Linked DNA regions of Homo sapiens: regions 2, 3 and 4 are each linked to region 1. The links are contacts of gene promoters, found by promoter capture Hi-C in blood cells and fetal thymus (Javierre and others, 2016). All regions are on one chromosome and are shown on one strand. The core of a region is centred on a gene start or on the middle of the fragment in contact, and the rest is flanking DNA. Distances in the headings are between cores, read along the strand shown.

Region 1 (2,700 bases), core at 156-2,655:
CAGATAAATTATTTATTCCTGTTTTTAACATTTGAACATTCTCGCCAACTCCCACTTGAAAAAATAAATAAGTGGTTTATTTTCTCCAATTTTGCCCTGAAGGATGACTGGAGATCATGTTGTCAGTGGAGCCCTTTTTGGGGATTACTAGCACTTTCTACTACTCTTCACCAGCTCTTTAGGTCAGAGGCAAAGGGGAGAGGGTTATATGCAGATGAAAGGCACCCTAGTGTCTCTACTGCATCCTCTGAACCTCTTGTTAACATACCTTACCTGAACAAGCCTGTTCTTGCCCAAACCTCCATCTTACAAAATATCTACTAAGAAAAGGGGGCGAGGACGGCTAGGACGACTCTAACAAGTTATAATATTATAAGATCAAATCCAAAGAGCTGGACTTTTCCTGTGGCCTCTCTTCCTAGGCCTTTGCTTTCAACATCCAACACTTTCAGGCCCTTCCTGTACGAACTGAGCAATGTGCTTCCTCTCATCACATGCCTGTAACTTTCTGGCTGGAGAGATCGAACCGATGTTGGAGACAAATTAAAAAAAAAAAGAGCGGAGAAAAAAGGTATAGACACTCAAAGATCATCTGGTTGGCACCTCCCTGAAGGCACATATAATACATTCCAGAAGGAGGGAAGGAAATCCTGGGCGTATGAATGAGATTCTACGGCCTGCGTGGAGCGGCGCTCTGGGCTGCTCCTCCCATCCCCGCATGGAAAGTTAGGCGTTTCTAGCCACATTAATTCATCCTAAAGGAAAAGAGGCGACAGCGGAGCAGCGTGCGCGCGGGGGAAAACACCCGCCCACGCGTGCCTTCGCCAACGCAAAGACGCAGCTCACACCCGTAACCGAGGAAGAGGGAGGCTCCCGCCGCGCTCACTTCCTGCGGGAGAGAGGAAAGACATCTTGCGGCAGGGAGGCCGGTGGCAGTTCCGCCCCTGGACCGGCCGGCAGCGGAGCGCACCCCGCCGCCACCTACGTGGCGCTGCCTGCTCGGGTGGCGCAGCGAGTAAAGGCCACCCCCGCCGTGCCCCGCGGTCCCCGGCCTTCCCACGGACGCCTGGCCCGGCCCGGGCGAGGGGCGACCGGGGTGAAGCCCGCCGCGCCCCGGGCCCTGCGGCAGGGCGACTCCGGGAGGCACAGGGCGCGCGAGGTGCAGGGGCGCGCAGGCCGCCGCCGGGTCACCCACCTTTCGCACTCTGCGGGCCGTGTAGAGCCCCATGCCGTCCTGAACCCGGGAGGACTTCAGGGAGAACCTGTCCGGCACGTACATGCCCAGCATTTTCCCGGGCGCGGCGGCCGCCGCCTCTCTCAACACCGGCGCTTAGCGCCCGGCAGGCGGCACATCGAAATTTGGGGTGCCAGGGTAGAGGGGAGAAACCGGCAGGGAAGGAGGAAATGGAGTTTTCCTCCCAGAATCCCCACCTCCCTGCCGATTCCAGGATCCCCCGCGGCTCAGCCCCTCCTCGTCCCGGGTCGGGCTCGGCCCGGATCCGTTCCTGCCATTCCTGCTGCGGGGGCGCGGGGGGCGCGGGCCTGGGCGCTGCGGGCGCCGGGACGCCGCTCGCTGATTGGCCCGAAGTTGGCGGCTCTGACCCGCGCCCGGGCGCGAAGCCCGGAGCAGGGCTGACCCCAGGGCCTCAAACCCGGAGGCCCGCGAGCTGCGCGGGCCGTCAGCACCCCTAGCCCCGGCGCGGCGGCGTGCGTTCCCGCCTTTGTCCAGCTCTGGGTTTTCAAACCTTGCCCCGCTGAACCATTACTCCCTGTAGGGGAGTCTCGCTTGCTTCTCTTCAGATGCAAAACGAAATGGACCTTCACACAGCTGGGGCATCCTCCAAAACAACTTTATCAAGTTCCTGACTCTGAAAGCCAGCTTATTGCCGACTACTGAGAACGAACCCTGCGGTCTAGGAAATTTCCGTGCTTCTCACATTTGAGTTATGCGTCTTTGCTTTTTTTCACGTTTGTTGCAGAGGCTAGAACTTAATAAGGGATCGCAAAGTATGTTGATTAACGTACGGAAAAATATGTTGCAAACAATTTAATGTTTTAAGCACTAGAAACTAGATATTTTATGGTAACATAACCTCTGGGAAGTTCTTATACTTCTCAAGGTACAATATTCCTGAGACCTCCCTTGCTTGATAATCATTAGACGTATTACGGATTTTCAGACATACGGAAGTGGATTTGTGGGAGACAGGAGGGGACACCCAAACAATAGCATCTGGTGTCACAACAATGCAATAAAGTCACAAGTCTTGTTTTAGTGTTTTTAATAAGCTGTTAGGCTGTGCAGTGTGCCCAGGACCTTTAAAAGCCTGTTTCATCCTTCAAAGTGATCCTGGGGTCATCTACTCATTTCTCTTGATATTTATGGTAATTTTCTACTCTAGGGTCTTTTCTCGGAAACCATTTGATGTTCTTAATTGATGTTCTCATAAACCATTAAAAGCACACACAAAAGTTTGACAAAATTACAGACTACACACACACACCATGGAAACGATTCCTGTTTCTGCAGGAAACCCTTGGAACATAGTTCCTAAGCAGATTTTTTTTTTTTTTTTTTTTTGACAGGGTCTAGCTATGTCTCCCAGGTTGATCTTGAACTCCTGGGCTTAAGGGATCCTCCGGCGGCGTTGGCCTCCTGAAGTGCTGGGATTACACACTTGAGCTACCACACCCGGCCCC
Region 2 (2,700 bases), core at 110-2,609, 130 kb after region 1:
AAACAATTGCAAATCTGGTAGATAGAAAGTTCTTTTGGGCTTTCATGTAAAGGTCCAAGGCTCTCAAAATAGAAGACGTGATATAAATTAATGCACTGTGACCTTTCTCATCACTGTAGCTTCCTCAGAACAGCAGCCAACAGCTTTACCTACCTGTGATAATATGATCAAAACAAATTCCTCCATCCCTCTATCACCAACAAGTTCTTTGCAGAAATGTATAAATGTAGTTGTGAAAAATGTCATCAAGCTCTTACACACTTTACATATTATAAAATTTAAGATCAGATTCATCACTATAAATATAACATAAAGTATAAAATTTGAAAAAATATATAGTATCACTGAGATTCGCTTAAAAATTATCTAATGTGCCTGATCATGTGCAGGCCACGAAGTTGAAATACATTTACAATGACAAAAAAGGATGGGCATTCTGATTTACTTGAAGCAAATGTATAGAGAATAAATGAAATCTAATGTTTAATTAAAGAGAGTGGAAAGTGCATGATTATAATTTGGCGAGAATAATTTCAAGGAATGGTCTGCCACAGAGATTTCTGTTATTTTCTTTTCCTTTCTAAATGCAAATATTTAGTCTTTTAAATTTCTATTTTCAAACTCAAGAGCATTTGTTTTTGTTTGAATCATCCATGTCACATTTGATAATAAATCTGAAGCATTTGGTCCAGGTGTAAGAAAAAAATATATAGCTTTAGTTAGGGGAAGAGCCGTGTGTCTGCCATGACTTGCTGGGCAGCAAGCGAAGAGGACTGCACACTTTAATACTGAATGTCCAACATGTGCCAGCGTGGATGTACGGATTCCTTCGAGGCAAAAATGCAGCAATCAAAAGTTGAATTCCCAAAAGGTGTTTTATTTTGTTTTCTTTTGCAAACAATGAAAATGTCTGAAGTTAGTTGTTCTTAAAAATCCAAATCTGTTAAAAATTTGAAGGAAATACAGCATATTATGGGCTGACATTTCCATACCTGAAAAGGGAGAAATAAAGCAGATGGAAGTAAAGGATTCCTGGTCTGCCCTGACGAGTGGTCTCTGGCACATGCTAGGTGAGCTCTCACTCTGCGATAACATGCCAACTTCTACCCAACCCAATGAAGTAGAGCCGACATTATGTACAGAACTCGTGCACTAAAGCTCTCTAAATGCAGGCTGTCAGTACACAGTGACATGATTATTAAGAGTTTTAGAGTTCATTATGTCAATAATCTACAGATTAGGGACCTGCACATGCATTTCAACTGCAATGATTCCAACCTCCCTTAGCACTTCTCTAAATGACTGCCAACTTTCCTTCTGGAAGGAAATTAAATTAATATAAAAAAGCAATGTGAAATTAAAACATGCCAAGGATTCGAATAAAGTTTCCATTCTGTCATGCGCTCCCTCTGAGTCTCATGATGCAGAGTTCCTAACAGGGATAACGTTAGGGCATTCTAATTTAAAAGATGGCCAAGCCTACACAATCAGAATTACTTCAAAGAGGATCAGATTTTAAAGTAAGTAATCTTGTATTCCCATCAATATTAATGCCAATGAGAAGAATAATGAATAACAGAACTGGCCGAAATAAATGTCTCATAGATAGGAGTAGTCTGTAATTCAGGAAGCCAGACCCATTTTAGTAAAGAAAGGAGTAGAACTCTTAAAATGTATCAGATGGATGGTTAGAAGATATGACAAAGTTCAAAAGCAGTGTATGGGAGAATGCAAAGAAAAACTGGAACAGAATACTAAATACCTTCTTCCTATCAAAATGTCCTCTATATGTGAAACTGAGATAGCTGGGATAACTTCCACTGTCTTAGGTGATGCTAATGATTCTTAGAATAATGAAAGCCCCAAAGGAAGGAATAATATGCTTGGTTGCTTTTCTTGCTTTTGTTTGGCAACTAAGCCTTATTTCCTGTTGATCTGCAACCAAATGAAAATGACTTCCTGTGCAACATTCCCCAAAGCAGTTTACAAACTGCATACCTCATTCTCTACTGAAATTTAGCTAAGATGGAGCATGGCAGCGCGCCAGTAGCATTCAGCAACAGCACGTATCAGCCTGGAAGGTGAGGCATGAATTGTTGTGGTCAATAAAAAAATATTGAGTCACTGCAGTGTGTAGCACCATAAAAATTTGATTTTTTATAGCCATTTATCCAAGAAGTTAACTCTTCAGTAAGTCACTCCATGGATTTCTTAGGATACCAAAACCTAAATATGGCCAAAAGAGCAAAAAATGAAGAGAATAAGAGTTTTGTCAAATATCGATGTCATACTCCAAACTCAACTGGGTAATGTGAGGTCTGAAAAAATATGTATCTTAGGAACTTAGAATCTATTTATGGGGCAAAATGTACCTGCCCAGCCAACAGAGTCCAATGTCAGCATTTCTACTCATTCATTATTTTTTTAATTCAATATCTATATAATACATTTTTGCTACATGCCAGGTACTCTTCTAGGAACAGTGGTGACCTCAGGAAGTGAGTGTTCTAGTGGGAGTGACAGGCAACACATAAACAGATACACAAGAAAATACTATTGCTGCTAGCTATGCTAAAAATTAAAATAGGCTTCTGTGAAAGACAGTGTGGTGATGGGCATTTTAGATTGAGTATTTAGAGAAGTTTTCCTTGAGGAGATGACATTTATGCTGTCATCTGAATGACAAGAGGAAGCCAATGA
Region 3 (2,712 bases), core at 1-2,500, 210 kb before region 1:
TCATCAGGAAAAATGTTCAATTTTCTTTGCAGTCCAAAAAATATAATGTGCTTTCCCCTCTAGTCTGAATAAACATAATGTCTTTTCACAACTTCAAATATTTCTTCAAATATTCCACAGTTTTTCAAAAACTTGAAAATGAAAAGGTAGTTTTAAGTATTTGGATCAGAATTTGTTTGAAGTTGCTGGGATTTCTTATTAAGGCTTGTATTATATCCAAATATTCTACTTAAACTTTTATTTTAAAAAAACATACAAAGACATTATTATGAAGTATATGAGAAGAAACAAAAAGCTTAATCCCTACACTTTACTTGTAAGACCAGAAGTTGTGAAGACATGATGGGCATGGCACCATGGCAGCTGCCAATGACAGGTGAGGGTTTTGCAGAGAACATCCTAAGACAGAACTGTCAAAATGCCACCCTAAGAGCAAGAAGAGGTATCAGGGAAGAAAAGGCAATGAAAATCAAGACCTGGGCACCAAAGATTAAGAACAACCCTTTTACTCCTTCCCAAATTTCCTCTTAGGAGACACTATCTGGGTGAGTATCCTAGACATTGCTCATACAGATGCTTAAAAGACTGACTCCCTGCTAGTATACTGAGATTCTGGTGAGGCATGAGGGCTTTGCAGTTATCACAAGAGGTTTAAAAATGCAAACACGTATTAATCATTGCTTTAGCTGAATAATGTCTTATATACTTACACACACACATTATCCACTCACATACTGATATTTTTCACATGTTTATACATGCTATTGCTGATTAATTTAATATACTTCACTTACAAATGTCGTTGAAATTATATTACCTTTCCTTATTTTCTCCTTCACAATATACTACAAGTACAACAACCATGTATTTATATATGCATGTTGGCAGAAAAGTAAAGGATAAAATGTGTAGTGTTAGAAAGGTTCTTCCAATTAAAGAAGTTTGAAGAGAAATCCATTTGATTAAGTAGTTTTCAATCTGCCTGGACTCCCTCTTCTCTACCTAGAACCATTTAAAGCCAGGGAGTCTTTGGGGTTTTGCCCTAAGAGAAGCACATGAAGGCCCCACGAGCATACTTCTATGTTAGTCTGGCAAGAAAGGCTCTCTGTCATAACTAAGTATATCAACAGGCAGCTGTGTTTGTCCTTCAAATGCCTCTCTTCTTCATCCCAGATCTTACACAGAGCCTGCACTATTCCTGAAGATATCACAAGAAGATATATAATTCATGGCAGATACTAGTCAGACTGTCTATAGTGCTCCTTGAAGGAACTTCTAATGCCTACCATGGAAAAGGATTCCAATTTATAGTGAATGTCATCAAAGCAAGTCTTAGAGAATTCTTGCTCTAGTAAATGGCTCTTATACTAGAGGCAGAGCCAAGAGGTCATAGGCCACTCACCTCTAAAGTTAAGAGAACCAAATAAACCAAAATAGAAGAAAATAAACGCATTTTCTTTCTCAGAGAGTAAACCCTCACATAGACCCTCCCTTACTAATTTCTTTTCATTACCCCTAATAAGCCATGCCAAAGAAATACCAATCAGAACATGGTCAACACAGTTAGAAGAACAGGCTGAGTGGTACAGGGGATAAGATTGGAGAGGCACTGACTTCTGTTCCTGCTCCTTTCTTTGAACATTGTGAAAAAAAAAAAAAAAAACTTCATTGCCTCTAGAGCCTTCCTGAGTGGAATATGTAGTATAAATTATACACTTTAACTCATTAGCTGAATTTCAGTAGAGAAAGAATGATTAGGTTCTTGATTAATTCTGTTTCTGAATGATTACATAGTTTAACTGACAAATAGCTTGTCCTTTGTCATCACAACTTGGGAATCATTACTAAATGGAGGCAATGTATTTGTCAGTTAAACTGTGTAATCTATTAGAGGCAGAATTAATCAGGAGTCTCATCAGTCTAGCTTTAATCAAACAATACTTGGCAGATTTCATTCAAAAGGTAGGATTTACACAGCTCTATGTGCTGCACCTTGTAATCTAGGTAATAAAAAGTCGTATTTTGTGTAGTTAATGCCCACCTATATAAAAGAACAGTATCTTCAAATGTTACATTTTTTTGATAAGATAAACTGAATTAATAAATCTCAACATCATCTGAGAGGGTTCTACAGAAACAAAGTTAAATTTTAGATATACTTTGGAGGACTCTGAACATGAAGTCTTTAGAAATAGAAATTGATTAGAAGCTTTCTTTTAGTTGAGCTAAGAATTCCTGACTAAAAGATTAGAGGTATGACCCCATCAGACAGGCTACCAAGGATAAGGATGGGTCAACCTCGGATCCCTGGATGGATCCATCCCAGAATGGATCACAGGTGGATGATCCACATACAGTAGGTACATAATCCAAAGATTTCCTGTGGTTGCTGTCTATGGTTTACATTAGACCACAATCAAATAAAATGGAAAATAAAATCAGTGAGCTCTTTCTCTTATAGTCAGAGGCCAAGGTAAAGGTGTCACAAAATCATAGAATGATGCTTAATAGTTCTCTTTCATGACCGTGATAGCTGACTCTACTGAAATTGAGAAAGGGAAACTTGTAGGCAATGAAAGAAAACAGGAAGACTAGTGAGCATGGCGAGGACTGTCAGAGCCTGTGGTCTTCTGAACATATATAATCATGAGTTTGCTTAGGAGAAGGTTCAACTTGCGAGTGAAACACTAGCTCCTCTGTGGTTATATCTTC
Region 4 (2,700 bases), core at 157-2,656, 170 kb after region 1:
CCATGACAGAAATCCAGGTGGGAAATTATGATAGTCTTAACCAGGGCAGTGGGACAGACATTGGAGCAGAGGGAGCACATTCAAAAGCTTTGTAGATGATAGAAGTGGCAGGGTTCAGTATTTGATTAAAATATGTAACATAAGGGAGAGAGATAATCCAGGGAAGATACTCTGGTTTCTGACTTGGGAAACTTGATGAATAGTACTGCCTTTCAATGTGATGAGGAACAAAAAATAGGAAATGAATTTAGGTTAAAAGAGGAAATGTGATGAGTTTGGTTTGGGACACATTGTACTTGGGTGCATATGGGCCATCCAGAAAGAAATGTAAGAATAAGTACCAGGCCCAGCATGGTACTGTAATCCCAGCACTCTGGGAGGCTGAGGTGGGCAGATCACTTGAGGCCAGGAGTTCCAGACCACCCTGGCCAATATGGAGAAACCCCATCCCTACTAAAAATACAAAAATTAGCCGAGTGTGGTGGCCCATGCCTCTAATCCCAGCTATTAGGGAGGCTGAGGCAGGAGAATTGCTTCAAGGGAAGAGAGTGACTTAAAGAGGGAAGAATGATAAATAGTGTTAGGTGATGTAGAGAGCCCAAATAAGGAAAGATTTAAGAAGTGGGCCAGGTGTATTGCCTTACCCCTGTAATCCCAGCATTTTGAGAGGTCGAGGTGGCAGGCAGATTGAGACCAGGAGTTTGACACCAGCCTGGGCAACATGGTGAAACCTCCTCTCTACTAAAAATACAAAAAATTGGCTAGGCGTGGTAGTGTGCACCTGTAATCCCAGCTACTTGGGAGGCTAAGGTGGGAGGATCACCTAAGCACAGGAAGTCGAGGCTGCAGTGAGTTGTGATCACACCACTGCATTCCAGCCTGGGTGACAGAATGAGACCCTGTGTCAAAAACAAGAAAACCCCAAAACGGTCATTGGATTTAGCAAGCAGGAGGTCATTGGTGTCCTTTGTGGGAACAGTTTCACCTAGGTCATGGAGGTAAAAGGCAGATTACATAAGGATGAGAAGTTAGTGAAAGCTGTGGCTGTGGTGACAGCATGTGTAGAAAACACTTTCAAGAGGTTAGCTATTAAAGAGAGTCGAGAAAGATGGTGCTAGACTGTATTAGGGCAAAAAGGACTTGAGCATGTTAATACGCTAATGGGCAGAAGCCAATGATGAATAAGAGGATAGTCAGTGGGAGGAGATTTTTAAGGATGTAGGAAGGAAGATTTGAGGTACAGCACTGATGGAAGCCTTAGCCTTTGCCAGAAAAAGAGAAGGAAGTAGTGATGATAGTCCAGTCACAGGTTGGGTAACAGGAGGTAGTGTGATAAGAGTTTTGAGATGCAAAGATGAGTATTACAGGATCCCAGTCTTCTTTCAGTTTGAGAGAGAGACAAAAAACAACACAAGCAAATAATTCCACTATTCAGGTCAAAGTAATAAATAATGTAAGAAACTTATAAGTCAAAGGCAGTGACTGGTACCTCAGAGACTGGAAAGGTTGTTTCTGATTGGGGTGAAGTAGAATTGCATAAGGAAGTGAAAAACTGAGATGTGTCTTGAAATATGTGAAGAATTTGGAGGTGTAGGCCATAGTATAGCACGAGAGTACTTTCAGCAAAGGAAACATATCAGTAAAGTGAAGGTGTGCAGAAAATGGTGAGTAGATAAGATTTGAATGAAATGGAAGATATGTAAAATAATAGCCAATAAATCTCAAAATATAAGTTGGAGCTTTATTGAGGAAAGCCATGCATATCAGGCCAAAGAGTTTGGCCTTGTTTTCAGCAGGCAGAAAGAAGTTACAGAAGAATTTTTTATAATGTTTAAAAAATGGAGCATTTGGGAATCAAATTAGAAAGGTTTGACAGCACACAAATATAAAGGCACGGAAAACCTTGACTGCTCCAAAAGTATACTCGGCATTCGATAAATATTGATTAATAAATATAGGGCTAGTTGGATGGGTGAACAAAGAAACACACAGACAGTCATTCTAACACTGGAATCAAGGGTTTACGTAGTCTTGCATTGACTACTTAATTATGTGAGCAGGCTGACTTCAGTTGCACCTCTGCTGTTTATGTCAAACATCAACAACATGTTCTCATTTATATAACAAACTGGTTCACAGTCCTTTAGTAGGCCAATTTAGTTGTCTAGCTTTACGACGGGAAAATGAACTTCTAGACTTGTCAAAGTACACAATTTTCTAAATACAATTTACAAAGCGTGAACTGCCTTTGTATTTCTACATAATATAATATTAAATCAAAACAACGTTTGAAACTTCATTTTTTTTGAATGATTTAAAGGAGGAATAGAAAATTGTTATGTTAGTTTTTGAAAACCTTCCTTTACTTGCTAACTTTTACTAAGTTAATATACTTAGGAAATAATACTAAGGAAATATGTAAAAAAACAAACCATTTACTCTCAAAACTTTATAAAAAGATTTTTTTTTGTCAATTGTGAGAGCTTAGAAAAAACTTTAAGAAAGTATTACTGCTATTCCAATTTAATTTTAAAATGTCCCACAGCTTTTATAGAGAAAAAAGAACTACAGTATTTTCAATGGCATCATGATGACTCAGCCTTGCTTTATGAAATACATACTCTTTGATATTTCCAATTATTACCTCAAAGAGCTTGCAGAGGGGGCTGATTGATTTCCCTTTATCAGTTGTTGAAAGTG

What was found. Contacts are between HindIII fragments. The CHiCAGO score rates a contact against its expected background, and 5 or more counts as called.
Region 2: a fragment that was not itself captured here is called in contact with the fragment with the promoter of PRDM5 in region 1 in 1 of 17 cell types (naive CD8 T cells); the score reaches 6.6 in naive CD8 T cells.
Region 3: a contact is called between a fragment that was not itself captured here and the fragment with the promoter of PRDM5 in region 1, in 2 of 17 cell types (megakaryocytes and erythroblasts). The highest score is 6.4, in megakaryocytes.
Region 4: a contact is called between a fragment that was not itself captured here and the fragment with the promoter of PRDM5 in region 1, in 1 of 17 cell types (naive CD8 T cells). The highest score is 5.2, in naive CD8 T cells.

What each region holds. Positions count from the first base shown.
Region 1 is chr4:120,921,321-120,924,020 of GRCh38, forward strand. PRDM5 (PR/SET domain 5) reads right to left here and starts at 1,406. Exons shown (of 16, transcript NM_018699.4): 1 at 1,196-1,406. The coding sequence starts at 1,288. LOC105377399 (a long non-coding RNA gene) reads left to right here and starts at 1,616. Exons shown (of 2, transcript XR_001741804.2): 1 at 1,616-2,007. The HindIII fragment of the contact is 4,297 bases long and covers 1-2,700 here.
Region 2 is chr4:121,051,914-121,054,613 of GRCh38, forward strand. The region is part of intron 1 of NDNF (neuron derived neurotrophic factor); the gene reads right to left. Among named protein-coding and RNA genes, the nearest start is that of NDNF-AS1, 18 kb to the right of the region's middle. The HindIII fragment of the contact is 2,827 bases long and covers 1-2,700 here.
Region 3 is chr4:120,715,417-120,718,128 of GRCh38, forward strand. All of the region lies in intron 14 of PRDM5 (PR/SET domain 5), which reads right to left. Among named protein-coding and RNA genes, the nearest start is that of PRDM5, 210 kb to the right of the region's middle. The HindIII fragment of the contact is 1,914 bases long and covers 294-2,207 here.
Region 4 is chr4:121,093,216-121,095,915 of GRCh38, forward strand. No RefSeq gene overlaps it. Among named protein-coding and RNA genes, the nearest start is that of NDNF, 22 kb to the left of the region's middle. The HindIII fragment of the contact is 2,642 bases long and covers 86-2,700 here.